Regions from separate parts of the Homo sapiens genome. Here region 2 is linked to region 1. Evidence: promoter capture Hi-C in 16 types of primary human blood cells and fetal thymus (Javierre and others, 2016). All regions are on one chromosome and are shown on one strand. Each heading gives the region's core, a stretch centred on a gene start or on the middle of the fragment in contact. The rest is flanking DNA. Distances are from core to core; before and after follow the strand shown.

Region 1 (3,129 bases), core at 298-2,797:
TACTAGATATAGATCATAGATATGATTATATATGAATATCAATCATTAGTTTGTAGCAATTACTCTTTATTTCAATATTATAATAATCCTTGCTTTACAATCATAACCTAGGAAAAACCAAGCCATACAGAGATAGGAGCTGAAGGGGCATGATGAGAAGTGACCAGAAGACAGAGTGTGAGCCTTCTGTTATTCCTGGACAGGGCCACCAGAGGGCTCCTTGGTCTAGCGGTAACGCCAGCATCTGGGAAGATTCCCGTTACCAAGCGGACCGTGGTCTAGAGGTAGCGTCAGTGCCAAGGAAAAGCACCCACTACTTAGCAGACCGGGAAAGGGAGTCTCCCTTTCCCCGGGGGAGTTTAGAGAAGACTGCTCCACCACCTCTTGTGGAGGGCCTGACTGATGTCAGGCCCGCCCGCAGTTATCCAGGGGCCTAACCGTCTCCCTGTGATGCTGTGCTTCAGCGGTCACACTCCTGTTTCACTTTCATGTTCCACTCTGTACAGCTGGCTCTGCCCTCTAGATAGCAGTAGCAAAATTAGTGAAAGTATTAAAGTATTAAAGTCTTTGATCTTTCTTAAAAGAGCATAGAAGAAATAATGATGTAAGCTGTCCTCTCTCTCTCCGCCTTGGCTACCTAACAGGGAAGGGCCCCTGTCCAGTGGACATGTGACTCACGTGACCTTATCAATCATTGGAGATGACTCACACTCTTTACCCTGCCCCTTTTGCTTTGTATCCAATAAATAACAGCGCAGCCAGGCATTAGGGGCCACTGTCGGTCTCCACGTCTTGGTGGTAGTGGTCCCCCAGGCCCAGCTGTCTTTTCTTTGATCTCTTTGTCTTGTGTCTTCATTTCTACAATCTCTTGTCTCTGCACACGGGGAGAAAAACCCACAGACCTTGTAGGGCTGGCCCCTACAACCGTGTTAGCCAGGATGGTCTCGATCTCCTGACCTCATGATCTGCCCACCTCGGCCTCCCAAAGTGCTGGGATTGCAGGCTTGAGCCACCATGCATGGCTTTTTTTTTTTTTTTTTTTTTTTGAGACAAGGTTTCACTCTGTTGGTGGCACAATCATGATGGTGGTGAAATCATGGCTCACTGAAGCCACAGCCTTGACCTCCTGGGCTCAAGCCTTCCTCCCACCTCAGCCTCTTGAGTAGCTGGGACTACAGGCATGCACCACCACGCCTGGCAAATTTTTTATTTTTTTATTGAGATAAGGTCTCACTATGTTGCCCAGGTCGGTCTTGAACTCCTGGCCTCAAGTGATCCTCCCACTTTGGCTCCCTAAAGTATTGTGATTGCAGGCACAAGCCACCATGCATCATAATTTTTAAAAATCGTAAACTAGGAATAGAAATAAACTTTCTCAACATGAGAAAAGGTACTTCTGAAAAACCCACAGCTACCGTCATACCCAATGGTGAAAGAGTGAAAGCTTTCTGCCTAAGATCAGGGACAAGACAAGGATGTCCACTTTTACCACTGCTATTCCACATTGTGCTGGAAGTTCTGGCTAGAACAATTAAACAAGAAAAAAAATAAAAGGCATCCAAATTGGAAAGGAAGAAGTAAAAATATCTCTATTCACAGATGACATGATCCTATATATAGGAAATGCCAGAGAATCACAAGAAAGCTTCTAGGGCTGCAGATTCAGCAAAGTTGCAGGGTACAAGATCACACAAAAATCAGTTGTGTTTCTACACACCCGCAATGAACAATCCAAAAAGGAAATTAAGAAAGCAATTCCACTTACAACAGTATCTAAAGGTTAAGCACCTAGGAATAAAGTTAACCAAAAGGGTGAACAATTTGTAGCCTGAAAACTACCAAATACTGCTGGAAAAGCATTAAAAAGAACACCTAGATGAAATATCAATACTACCCGAAGCAATCTACAGATTCAACGCAATCCCTCGGAAAATTCCAACAACTGGCCGGGCGCGGTGGCTCACACCTGTAATCCCAGAACTTTGGGAGGCCAAGGCGGGTGGATCACCTGAGGTCGGGAGTTCGAGACCAGCCTGACCAACATGGAGAAACCCTGTCTCTACTAAAAATACAAAATTAGCCGGGCGTGGTGGCACATGCCTATAAGCCCAGCTACTCAGGAGGCTGAGGCAGGAGAATCGCTTGAGCCCGGGAGGCAGAGGTTGTGGTGAGCTGAGATCGCGCCATTGCACTCCAGCCTGGGCAACAAGAGTGAAACTCTGTCTCAAAAAAAAGAAAAAAAAAAAAGGAAAAAAAAAGAAAATTCCAACAACCTTTTTGACAGACATGGAAACTCTGATCTTTAAGTTCATATAGAATTGCAGGAGGCCCAGAATAGCCAAAACAATCTTGAAAAATAACAAAGGAGACTCATACTTCCAATGTCAAAATTTGCTACAAACCTACAGTAATCAACACTGTGTGGGCTAGACATGGTGGCTCACGCCTGTAATCCCAGCACCTTGGAAAGCCGAGGCAGATCACCTGAGGTCAGGAGTTCAAGACTAGCCTGGCCAACATGGTGAAACCCTGTCTCTACCAAAAATACAAAAAAATTAGCCGGGCGTGGTGGCAGGTGCCTGTAATCCCAGCTACTCAGGAGGCTGAGTTAGGAGAATCGTTTGAATCCAGGATGCGGATGTTGCAGTGAGCAGAGATCGTGCCACTGCAATCCCGCCTGGGTGACAAGAGCGAGACTCCGTCTCAAAAAAAACCCAAAAAACTGTGTGGTTCTGGCATAAGGATAGACGCAATCCAGTGGAATAGAATTGAAAGTCCAGAAATAAACTCATAAATCTATGAGTGTCATGCATTGAATTGTATCCCGCTAAAGATATGTTGAAGTCCGGCCGGGTCCAGTGGCTCACGGCTGTAATCCCAGCACTTTGGGAGGCCGAGGCAGGTGCATCACCTGAGGTCAGGAGTTTGAGATCGGCCTGGGCAACATGGTGAAACCCCGTCCCTACTAAAAATACAAAAATTAGCTGTGTATAGTGGCAGGCACCTGTAATCCCAGCTACTCGGGAGGCTGAGGCAGGAGAATCCCTTGAACCCAGGAGGTGGAGGTTGCAGTGAGCCGAGATCACGCCATTGCACTCCAACCTGGGTGACAGAGCAAGACTCTGTCTC
Region 2 (3,129 bases), core at 445-2,944, 180 kb before region 1:
CTGCTCCCCTGGGTTCCAACTCAGGATGTACATGGTCCCCCAAGCCCAGGCCACCTCCTCCTCATCCCTGCCAGCCCCACTTGCAGCTGCTCTGGGCAGTCCCTGCAGCAGTGACAGGAGTTTGGGGGGCCCCATCCTGCCTCCATTCCACCCAGGCCGACCCAAAACCTTAGTGGCCGCACTCTGGGGGCTAGAGAGAGACCTGGGCGCTGCTATCATCACAGCGGGCACGGGCGCCCCTTGGGGCCACCAGTCGAGCCTGGGCTCGCCTGTCCTCACCCAGCTCCCCCAGTGCCTGCTCTCCCCAAGCCACGTGAGCCCGCTGCCACCGTTCTGGAAACACGGGTCTTTGAAGAGAGGCCCTTCCAGGGTCTGGAACACCCTGCAGGGTGCAAAGGGGGGCGATGGCCTTGGCTGGGCCCTGGCGCACGGAGTGGGTTCGGGATGGAGTCCTGAGGGACCCCGGGGGTGTTGGTTGATCTCGGGGGTCTGACGGGACTGAGACGGGGACACTGAAGCAGGATGGGGCCCTGGCAGGAGCTCTGGGTGGTGTGGGCCTTGGCGGGCTTTCAAGGGCTCTGACAGGATTTTGGGGGGGTCTCTGACTGGATTTCTGGGGAGTGTCTGGCTGGATTTTGGAGATTTTGATTTCTGTGGGGGTCTCTGACTGGATTTCAGGGGTCTCTGGCTGGATTTCGGGGGTCTTGATTTCTGCGGGGGTCTGATTGGATTTCTGGGGGTTCTCTGACTGGATTTTGGGGGTCTTGATTTATTCGGGGTCTCTGGATTTTGGGGGTCTTGATTTATGCGGGGGTCTCTGGATTTCTGGGGGTCTCTGGCTGGATTTTGGGGGTCTTGATTTCTGCAGGGGTCTGACTGGATTTCTGGGGGTCTCTGGCTGGATTTGGAGGGTCTTGATTTCTGCGGGGGTCTCTGAGTGCATTTCGGGGTCTCCGTTTCTGGGGTGTCTTTGATGGACTTCTGTGCTCTCTGACGGAATCTGAGGTCCGACTGGGTTTGGGAGGGGACCTGCCAGGATTTCTGGGGATCTCTGACACGAGTCTAGGTGGCTCTGCTGATCTGGGGAGAGTAATAGGATTTTGGGGAAAGTTTCTGGCAGGCTCTGAGGGAGAAGTCTGACAATTTCTAGACGATTCTGACAGGATTTCGGGGGTCAACTATAAGATTTCCTGGTGGACTCCTTTCAGTATATCTGAGGGGATGTGGTCAGGATTTTTTTTTTTTTTTTTGAGACGGAGTCTCACTCTTGTCACCCAGGCTGGAGTGCAGTGGCGCGATCTCAGCTCACTGCAACCTCTGCCTTCCAGGTTCAAGCAGTTCTCCTGCCCCAGCCTCCTGAGTAGCTGGGATTATAGGCGCGTGCCACTACGCCTGGCTAATTTTTTGTATTTTTAGTAGAGACGGGGTTTCACTTCCCCGGGATGGTCTCTATCTTCTGACCTCGTGATCCGCCCGCCTCGGCCTCCCAAGTGGTCAGGATCTGGGGGGCCCTGACGCAGGGGTATCTCTCCCACAATATGGGGGGGCTTCGCTAGGATTTCGGTAGGGGCTGGGAAGGGCCATTCTGGGAACCTCGCCGCGGGGCAGGGCGCACCTGGAGCCACGTCCTAGTCTCGGGACACAACGGACATCCACGAACGACGAACGGCAGTTGAGTTGGGGGAGGTGCGCGTGAGCTTTTCCCGCCAGAAAAAGCAAAAGGAGGCGAGGGGTCGCGAGTGCGCGTGCGCAGCGTCTGAGCCCCGCCCCTCCCCGCCCGGACTCCTCTTAAGACGCAGGTGCAAACCGGCGGCCGACGCGTGTCACGCATGCGCGCTGGCGGTGTGGGCTGTGGCCACGGAGTTTGTCTGGTGGTGGAAGGAGGGGGTGGCTGCGCCCGCCATGCTGGGGCTCGTGTTTTTCTCTTCCGCTTCAGGCTTTGGTGAAATGGGCTGAGGAAGGGGGAATTGAACTGAGAGACTCCTTGTCCGTCCCCCATTTCTTTCTTTTTTTTTTTTTTTTGAGATGGAGTCTCGCTCTGTCGCCCAGGCTGGAGTGCAGTGGGACAATTTTAGCTCACTGCAACCTCCGCCTCCCGGGTTCAAGCAATTCTCCTGCCTCAGCCTCCCGAGTAGCTGGGATTACATGCGCCCGCCACCACACCTGGCTAATTTTTGTATTTTTAGTAGAGACGGGGTTTCACCACGTTGGCCAGGCCGGTACCGAACTCCCAACCTCAGGCGATCCACCCGCCTCGGCCTCCCAAAGTGCTGGGATTACAGGCGTGAGACACAGCGCCTGGCCTGTCCTTTTTATGTATTGCCATATTTTCTTTTCTTTTCTTTTCTGTGAGATCCCTGTTGAGTTTTGTTAACAAGGCTATGCTGATATAATGTGTGGAGAAGTGTTCTCTCTTTTTCTATTCTTTGAAAGTGCTAGTGTAGGATTGATGTTATTTATTTTTTATGTGTTTGGAAGAAGTCACCAGCCATCTGGACCTAGAGTTTTCTTTGTGGAAAGACTTTAAATTACAAATTCTATTTCTTTTATAAAAATACAACTATTCAGATGTTCTATTTTATTTCTGGTAAGTTGTGGTTTTGGTAAGTTGTGGTTTTCAAGGAATTTTTCCATTTTATCTAAAATTTCAAATAATTTGCATAAAGTTCATAATATTGTCTTTTTTTGGAGGGGGAGAAACACGGTCTTATGTTAGGCTGGTCTCGAACTCCTGCCCTCAAATGATCCTCCTACCTTGGCCTCCCAAAGTGCTGGGGTTACTGGCATGAGCCACCATGCCCAATCTTTTTAATATCTGTAAGATCTGTGGTGACGGATATTAATAATTTGTGCCATCTCTCTTTTCCCCCCTCCCTTCCCCTCTGCTCCTCTCCTCCCCTTCCCCCACTCCCCTCCCCTCATCTCCCCTCCCCCGTACCTTCCCCTCCCCTCCCGCCTCCCTTCCCTTCTGCTCCTGTCCTCCCCTTCCCCCACTCCCCTCCCCTCATCTCCCCTCCCCCGTACCTTCCCCTCCCCTCCCCCTCTCTTCCCCTCTGCTCCTCTCCTCCCCCCACTTTCCTCCCCTCATCTCCCCTCCCACCTCCCTTCCCCTCCCCCTCCCTTTATCTC

Evidence for each region. The method cuts DNA at HindIII sites, captures the fragments that hold promoters and counts their contacts. A CHiCAGO score of 5 or more calls a contact.
Region 2: the fragment with the promoter of KASH5 here is called in contact with a fragment that was not itself captured in region 1 in 1 of 17 cell types (total B cells); the score reaches 6.0 in total B cells.

The regions. Positions count from the first base shown.
Region 1 is chr19:49,205,554-49,208,682 of GRCh38, reverse strand. All of the region lies in intron 20 of TRPM4 (transient receptor potential cation channel subfamily M member 4), which reads right to left. Among named protein-coding and RNA genes, the nearest start is that of TRPM4, 49 kb to the right of the region's middle. The HindIII fragment of the contact is 201 bases long and covers 1,447-1,647 here.
Region 2 is chr19:49,386,814-49,389,942 of GRCh38, reverse strand. It overlaps KASH5 (KASH domain containing 5), which reads right to left and starts at 1,694. Exons shown (of 20, transcript NM_144688.5): 1 at 1,616-1,694. It overlaps LOC101928295 (a long non-coding RNA gene), which reads left to right and starts at 1,862. Exons shown (of 3, transcript NR_110729.1): 1 at 1,862-2,587. The HindIII fragment of the contact is 10,613 bases long and covers 1-3,129 here.